Regions from separate parts of the Homo sapiens genome. Here region 1 is linked to region 2. Evidence: promoter capture Hi-C in human tissues and cell types (Jung and others, 2019). All regions are on one chromosome and are shown on one strand. The core of a region is centred on a gene start or on the middle of the fragment in contact, and the rest is flanking DNA. Distances in the headings are between cores, read along the strand shown. Region 1 overlaps PC (pyruvate carboxylase). Region 2 holds the start of C11orf86 (chromosome 11 open reading frame 86).

Evidence for each region. Contacts are between HindIII fragments. The study calls those that stand out against the background at their distance.
Region 1: a contact is called between a fragment that was not itself captured here and the fragment with the promoter of C11orf86 in region 2, in 2 of the 25 tissues and cell types used here (liver and neural progenitor cells).

What each region holds. Positions count from the first base shown.
Region 1 is chr11:66,938,333-66,942,560 of GRCh38, reverse strand. The region is part of intron 3 of PC (pyruvate carboxylase); the gene reads left to right. Among named protein-coding and RNA genes, the nearest start is that of MIR3163, 5.9 kb to the right of the region's middle. The HindIII fragment of the contact is 4,670 bases long and covers 467-4,228 here.
Region 2 is chr11:66,972,770-66,977,153 of GRCh38, reverse strand. It overlaps C11orf86 (chromosome 11 open reading frame 86), which reads right to left and starts at 1,850. Exons shown (of 2, transcript NM_001353554.2): 1 at 1,516-1,850; 2 at 145-977. The coding sequence starts at 1,791. The coding sequence ends at 903. RefSeq lists an enhancer at 666-1,169. The HindIII fragment of the contact is 14,679 bases long and covers 1-4,384 here.

The sequences.
Region 1 (4,228 bases), core at 1,552-4,051, 36 kb after region 2:
CATTCTACTTTCTGTCTCTGAATTGGACTGCTCTAGGCACCTCATATAAATGGAATCATACGGTATTTGTCTTTTTGTGACTGGCATATTTCACATAGCATAATGTCCTCAAGGTTCATCCATGTTGTAGCATGTGTCAGAATTTCTTTTTTTTTTTTTTTGAGATGGAGTCTCGCTCTGTCGCCCAGGCTGGAGTGCAGTGGTGCGATCTCGGCTCACTGCAAGCTCCACCTCCCGGGTTCACACCATTCTCCTGCCTCAGCCTCCCGAGGAGCTGGGACTACAGGCGCCTGCCACCATGCCCAGCTAATTTTTTTTGTATATTTAGTAGAGACGGGGTTTCACCGTGTTAGCCAGGATGGTCTCGATCTCCTGACTTCGTGATCCGTCCACCTCGGCCTCCCAAAGTGCTGGGATTACAGGCATGAGCCACCGCGCCCAGCATTTTTTTTTTTTTTGAGATGGAGTTTCACTCTTGTTGCCCAGGCTGGAGTGCAATGGTGCGATCTCGGCTCACTACAACCTCTGCCTCCCGAGTTCAAGCGACTCTCCTGCCTCAGCCTCCCGAGTAGTTGGGATTACAGGCATGTGCCACCACACCCGGCTAATTTTATATTTTTATTAGAGACGGGGTTTCCCCATGTTGGTCAGGCTGATCTCAAACTCCTGAGTTCAGGTGATCTGCCCGCCTCAGCCTCCCAAAGTGTTGTGATTACAGGCGTGAGCCACTGCGCCTGGCCGGAATTTCTTTTTAAGGCTGAATGATGGGGGCCAGGCATGATGGCTCACACCTGTAATCCCAGCACTTTGGGAGGCCGAGGCAGGCAGATCACGAGGTCAGGAGATCGATACCATCCTGGCTAACACGGTGAAACCCCGTCTCTACTAAAAAATACAAAAAATTAGCTGGGCATGGTGGCGGGCACCTGTAGTCTCAGCTACTCGGAAGGTTGAGGCAGCAGAATGGTGTGAACCCGGGAGGCGGAGCTTGCAGTGAGCCGAGATGGCGCCACTGCACTCCAGCCTGGGCGACAGAGCAAGACTCTGCCTCAAAAAAAAAGAAAAGGCTGAATGATATTCCGTTGTATGGATTTTACTTATCCATTCATATATCTGTGGACACTTGGCTTGGTTCCATGTTTGAGCTATTATGAATAATGCTTCCATGAATATGGGTGTACAAATATCTCTTTGAGACTTTGCTTTCAGTTCTTTTGGATATATACCTGATTGCTGGGTCAATGGCAATTCTATTTTTAATTTCTCAAGAGCCTGCTATGCTATTTTCCACATCAGCTACAGCATTTTACATTTCCATTAACAGTGCATGAGGGTTCCAGTTTTTCCACATCCTCACCAACACTTTGTTGTTTTGATAGTAGCCATCCCAATGGGTATGAGGTGATATCTCATTGTAGTTTGGATTTGCATTTCCTTAATGATTAGTGATGTTGAGCACCTTTTTTTTTTTTTTTTTTTTTTAGATGGAGTCTTGCTTGCTCTGTTGCCCAGGCTGGAGTGCAGTGGCACCATGTCAGCTCACTGCAACCTCTGCCTCCTGGGTTCAAGCTATCCTCTTGCCTCAGCCTCCCAAGTAGCTTGGATTGTAAACATGCACCACCATGCCTGGCTAATTTTTGTATTTTTAGTAGAGACGTGTTAGCCAGGCTGGTCTCGATCTCCTGACCTCAAGTGACCACCTGCCTCAGCCTCCCAAAGTACTGGGATTACAGGCGTGAGCCACTGTGCCTGGCCTTGAGCATCTTGTGATGTGCTTATTGGCCATTTGTATATCTTCTATCTTCTTTGGGGAAATGTCTGTTCAAGTCCTTTGCCTTTTTAAATTTTTATTATTTATTTATTTATTTATTTTGAGACAGGGTCTTGTTCTGTTGCCCAGGCTGGAGTACAGTGGCACAGTCTTGGCTCACTGCAGCCTCGACCTCCTGGGCTGCAGTGATCCTCCCACCTCAGCCTCCCTTGTAGCTGTATTTTTTTGTATTTTGTATTTTGTAGCTGTAGTTTTTGTATTTTTTGTGGAGACAGCGTTTCACCATGATGCCCAGGCTGGTCTTGAACTCCTGAGCTCAAGTGATCTGCCTGCTTCAGCCTCCCAAAGTGCTGGGATTACAGACATGAGCCACTGCACCTGGCAAACTCCCAAAATTCAACACACACACACAAAAAACCACCTGATTCAAAATGGGCAGAGGGGCCGGGTGTGGTCCCAACTACCAGGGAGACTGAAGTGGGAGGATCACTTGAGCATGAGAAGTCGAGGCTGCAGTGAGTCGAGATTGTACGACTGCATTCCAGCCTGGACAACAGAGTGAGACCCTGTCTCAAAAAAAAAAAAAAAAAGTTTTGGGAACTTTCTATGTATTCTCGATATTAATCCCTTATCAGATACATGATTTGTAAATATTTTCTTCCATACTGTGGATTGCCTTTTTACCCCATGATAATGTCTTTTGATGCACAAAATTTTTACATTTTCTTGAAGTCCAACTTGTCTATCTTTGCTTTTTGTTGCCTGTGCCTGCCTTTGGTGTTGTATCCAAGAAATCATTGTTAAATCTAATATAAAGCTTTTCCCCTATGTTTTTTCCAAGAGTTTTGTCATTTTAGGTCTTATGTTTAGGTCATGGATATGGTGTCAGGTAAGGGTCCAATTTCATTCTTTCTCATGTGTCTCTGCAGGAGTTGTTTTTTTTTTGTTTTTTCTTGTTTTTGGTTTTTTTTTTTTTTTTTTTTTTGAGACGGAGTTTTGCTCTTGTTGCCCAGGCTGGAGTGCAATGGCACGATCTCGGCTTGCTGCAACCTCTGCCTCCCGGGTTCAAGTGATTCTCCTGCCTCAGCCTTCCGAGTAGCTGGGATTACAGGCATGCGCCACCACACCTGGCTAATTTTGTATTTTTAGTAGAGACGGGGTTTCTCCGTATTGGTCAGGCTGGTCTCAAACTCCTGACCTCAGGTGATCCACCCGCCTTGGCCTCCCAAAGTATTAGGATTACAGGCGTGAACCACTGTGTCCAGCCTCTGCAGGAGTTTTAAGTACAGTCTGTCCTCACCTGTGGCTGTGTTCCCCTTTAAGGTGGTAAAGGAGCACTGTGAGATACAGTATTTCATAGCACAGTTGTTTCTTGCTATCCCCTGGGGACTGGTTCCAAGACCCCCCTATGGATGCCAGAATCCTCCAAGATGCTCAAGTGCTTGATAGAAAATGGCATAGTATTTGCATATAACCTATGCATATCATCTTGTGTACTTTAAATCATCTCTGGATAACTTAAAATACCCAATCCAATGTAAATGCCATGTAAATAGTTCTTATACTGTATTGTTTTTATTTGTATTATTTTTTATTGTTGTATTGTCATTTTTTATTTTGCTTTTTCGAATATTTTTGATCCCCAGTTGGTTGAATGAGTGGATGTGGAACCCACAGATACAGAGGGCTGACCATATAGTAAACGAAGGCAGTGATGTCACTGAGTGACGACTCTGCTCTCAAAGAGGAGGGAAAATGTGCTTCACCATAGGGCCAGTATTAAATGACTGGGGGGTGCAGAGAAGATGAAACCTAAAATGTCAAGTCATTTAACACAGCAATTCCAGTTCTAGAAATGTAACCTGTGGTATCATGGGACAGGCGTGCAAACATATGAGGTGATAGCAGAAAATGGGAAATCACCAAAACGTACATCAGAAAATGATTGCTACATATGAAGTCTGTTCTGTGTCATATGATGTAGCCTTTAAAAATAGCTCATGTATCCTAATCAAGCTGTCACTCTAAATTTATTACCATAGGACGAGAGCTATGATGCCTTTACACAAAAAATATATATTATAAAACAGAATGTATAATATCTCATTTTTTGTTATTTTGGAATGCTATACCAACAATTTGTTCAGGTTGCTGGAGTTACAAAATTATGTGTTTAAAAAATTTTCTATATAGTATTTTTTTCTTTATAGGATGTTTTAATTTTAAGTTATCAATTTAAAAAATCTAATTAGAGAAGGGTGCAATTCATAACACTACTTGGGGCTTACGGTCGAGTACTAGGTACTTAAATATCAGAGTTTGACTCTTTTACCCCTCTTTTCCAAAAAATTGTTTTGGGGGATGAAAACCTCTTTCTAAATGCCATATGAGATATAGATTGCTGGGGAGTGGTGGAGTGAGGACTTCATAAATGCTGTTCCTCCATTTAAAGGAATG
Region 2 (4,384 bases), core at 601-3,100:
CCTGGTGGGGGATCCAGCCCGCCCCGGGCCCTGGTGCCCCTGCCCAAGCATTCTGGGATGCTTTGGGCTTAGCCTGCCTCACAGGGGTCAGCAGGGGTGGGGGGGTGGGGGTCTGAGCCAGCGAGTTAGTCACCAGGCAAATCGTTGACTTTTTCTCAGCATCTTTATTACTGTGTTCGACTCCAGTGCTGGACACTGGATGGGGTGGGGTGGGGTCGGAGATGTCAAAACCAAGAAATCCCTTCCCCACTCTGGGCCTCAGTTTCCCCCTCTGTCACACAGGGAGGAAGACTTCCTCTGCTTCCTTCATCAGGACACCGTGAGGTTCAAAGGTTTTCAGCACAGAGTGCTCAGCCAGGAGGGCCACCCAGCTGTGGTCCTTGCCCCAGAGGGCTCACCATCTGGGAGGGAGACCTGCGCCCTGGCCCACCATCAGCAACTGACAAGAAGGGCAGTTGGGTCATGGCCCAGTGACCAGGCAACGTCCGTGAGCCTCTCGGCCATGGGTCTGGCTTCATCAAGCTCCGTCCTGGAAGTTGACAGCTGGTCGTGTGGGGCAGGAGCGTCCACAGCCCCCATTCCGGGCAGGCTTCTTCTAAACCTTCATAGAATCATAGTCCAAGGCCCCTACCCAAGCCCAGAGGGCAGACAGCTGAGCCCCCTTCTTTTTGACCCTGCTGGGATCTTCAAAGAGAGCTAGTGCTGGAGTGGAAGGGCCAGAGCTAAGAGTGGCAGCCACGTGGCGACTCCAGTGAGCTGGTGGCAGAAGCCTCCTAGGGCCACCCAGCCAAAGTCCAGAGAGCTGTGAAGAGGTAGGTCAGCAGACACGGTGGGCTGGTCCAGGCACAGCAAGGGGGCCACGATGGCTTCCAGCATCTTTAGCTGATGGTGCCCAGTGTGGGCTACGGGGAGGCCGGCTGACTCAGAGTCACGCTGGGGAAGATGGCGACAAAGCTCTCCCACCTTCTTCTTACCTGCTGGAAGACAGAGGTGGGGGAGGTCCCATGGGCTGAGTGGTGGGCTTAGATGTTGTTCCACCCATAGCCACGAGGTGGGGGTAGACCCCAGGTAGAGAAGCACTGCTCATTGGAGACCCTGTCTCTTAGAGGAGGGAGCCTGCAGCCCCCCACAAAGGGGTCCAGATCTCCCCTTTTTCTCTGGGGTGAGAGGGTCACACAGTGTACTTCCCAGGAAGTTGCACTGGCTGATCTCCTTGCCTCCTGCTCTATTCCCCCATCCAGCATACTATCAATCAGCTAAAAACAGCGCTTACCATATCACCCTCCTCCTCTAAAACCTTCAGTGGCTCCCCAGTGCCTGTGGGATAAATCCCAAATGCCTTCAGGGCCCTCTGAAACGTGGCTCTGGGGTGTCTCTCTCTGCACCCTCATCTCCAGGCAGCTCGGTTGTCATCTTGGTACACAGCCTGGGCTGGCTCTGTCTCTGAACCTTTCCTGCCCTGGAATCCCTGCCCACCTGCTGTGGTACCCTCCATCCTTCAGCCCACAGCCATACCTGTTGGTACCGCCTCAGCCACCACCGGCTGCCTCTTCGCTGGGCTTGGATCAGCTGCTCTGTGTCCCCCAGGCTCCCCGGCACCCGCTCCTGGGCAGTGGCATCTGGCCCTTCTGTGCCTCTCTCGAGGCCCTGGGACCTGGACTTCTCTTGCCCCTGTCTGAGGCTTAGCGCCCTGCGGAGTTGGCCCTCCTGGGGCCTCCCCCAGGGCTCCTGCAGCTTTCCATAGGAGGGTCGGGGCTCTCGCAAGGACTGACTTCGCAGCCCTGTTCCCATGGCTCCGGAGGCTGCAGGCACAGGACTGCTCCGGCCCCTCAGCAAGACACTGGCCCTCTGAGGTGGCCCAGTGCCTCCACCCATCTGACAAGAGATCACTGGGGGCAAAGGTTGGTGCTGCCAAGGTGGCTTTCATAAATCAAAGGGCAGGCCACAGGGCCAAGCATCCCTGAGTCACCTCACCACTGCCTCCCCACCTTCTGGGTCAAGGAGTGAAGGCCAAGGGGAGGAAATTGCCACTCCCTCCTTCACCTATCCTTCCCCCCTCCCCCTCCCCTCCCCCTCCCCTCCTCTCCCCCCTCCCTCCTCCCCCATCCTCCCCCCTCCTTCTCCCCTCCCCTCCCCCTTCCTTCCCCTCCCCTCTCCCTCCCCCCTCCTCCTTCTCCTCCTTCTCCTCTAGGCAGCTTCCCTGACTACCTCATCCCTGAAGAGTTTGTTCTCCTCTGAATCTCTATGGCCCCGGCATCCATTGACACTGAGCACCATGGCTTAACAACCAAACAGAGACAGCCTTTTAAGAATTGGGCCAGGCCCGGTGGCTCACGCCTGTAATCCTAGCACTTTGAGAGGCCGAGGCAGGCAGATTGCCTGAGATCAGGAGTTCCAGACCAGCCTTGCCAACATGGTAAAACCCCGTCTCTACTAAAAATACAAAAAATTAGCTGGGCATGGTGGCGGGCGCCTGTAATCCCAGCTACTCAGGAGGCTGAGGCAGGAGAATCACTTGAACCCAGAAGGCGGAGGTTGCAGTGAGCCGAGATTGTGCCACTGCACCCAACCTGGGTGACAGAGCAAGACTGCGTCTCAAAAAGAAATATATTTTTCAAAAAAGCATCAGTATGGCTCCAAGCTAGAACAATCACATTCACAAAGACAGCAAGGAGGATGGCCGTTGCCAGGCACTGGGGGAGGGAGGAATGAAGAATTTAATGGCTGTAAATTTTCAGATTTCATAAGATGAAGAGTTCCAGAGATTGGTTGCACAACAATGGTTGAAATGGTAAACTTTATGGTATATGTGTTATACAATACTGGAGAATTTCTTTTTTTTTTTTTTTTTTTTTAAGAAACAGAAGGAAACAGGACGGCTCCAGGCTAGGAGTCAGGAGGCCTGGATTTTTTCCAGGCCCAGCGCTGCCCCTAATGTCCCAGCAGCACAGCACTATCCTTGAGCACTCAAGCTCTGAGGACCAACTGCCTCTGGGTAAACTGTAGCTTCATTCCTTGCAGCCTTGTGACCTTGGGCACATTTTTCTCCTTCATTCGTAAGAGGGACAAATAACTTGGGTAATTGTTGTGCGTATTAAATGTGGTCCACAGGGCTTGGCACACAGCAAGCCCTCGAACAAAGTGAGTTGGTGGTTGTATTTGTCCGTTCTCCTGCTGCTATAAAGAAAGACCTGAGGCTGGGAGCAGTGGCTCATGCCTGTAATCCTAGCACTTTGGGAGGCTGAGGCGGGTAGATCACTTGAGGTCAGAAGTTCAAGACCAGCCTGGCCAATATGGTGAAACCCCTTCTCTACTAAAAATACAAAAATTAGGCCAGGTTGCAGTGGCTCACAACTGTAATCCCAGCACTTTGGGAGGCTGAGGCAGGTGGATCACAAGGTCAGGAGTTTGAGACCAGCCTGGCCAACATGGTGAAACCCCGTCTCTACTGAAAAAATACAAAGATTAGGCAGGCATGGTGGCGTGTGCCTGTAATCCCAGCTACTCGGGAGGCTGAGGCAGGAGAATTGCTTGAACCCAGGAGGCAGAGGTTGCAGTGAGCCGAGATCGTGCCACTGCACTCCAGCCTGGGCAACAGAGCAAGACTCCGTCTCAAAACAAAACAAAACAAAACAAAAAATTATCCAGGTGTAGTGGTGGGCAACTGTAATCCCAGCTACTCGGGAGGCTGAGGCAGGAGAATCGCTTGAACCCAGGAGGCGGAGGTTGTAGTGAGCTAAGATTGCGCCACTGCACCCCAGCCTGGGCAACAGAGAGAGAATCTGTCTCAAAAAATAATAATAATAAAAATAAGAAATACCTGAGACTGGGTAATTTATAAAGACAAAAAGTTTAATTGGCTCATGGTTCTGCAGGCTGTACAGGAAGCATAGCAGCTTCTGCTGCTGGGGAGGCCTCAGGAAGCTTCCAACCGTGGTGGAAGGCAAAGCGGGGATGAGGCATCTTACATGATAGGAGCAGGAGAAAGAGAGAGCGTGGCGGGAGGTGCTGTACACTTTTTTTTGAGACAGAGTCTCAGTCTGTCGCCCAGGCTGGAGTGCAGTGGCGCGATCTTGGTTCACTGCAACCTCCGCCTCCCGGGTTCAAGTGATTCTCGTGCCTCAGCCTCCTGAGTAGCTGGGACTATAGGTGCCTGCCACCACGCCCAGTTAATTTTTTGTATTTTTGGTGGAGACAGGATCTTGCTATATTTCCCAGTCTGGCCTTGAACTCCTGGGCTCAAGTGATCTGCCCACCTCAGTCTCCCAAAGTGTTTGGAATAAAGGCGTGAGCCACTGTGCTCAGCCTACACACTTTGAAACAACCAGATCTCACAAGAACTCACTATCATGAAAACAGCACCAAGGGGATGGGGCTAAACCAT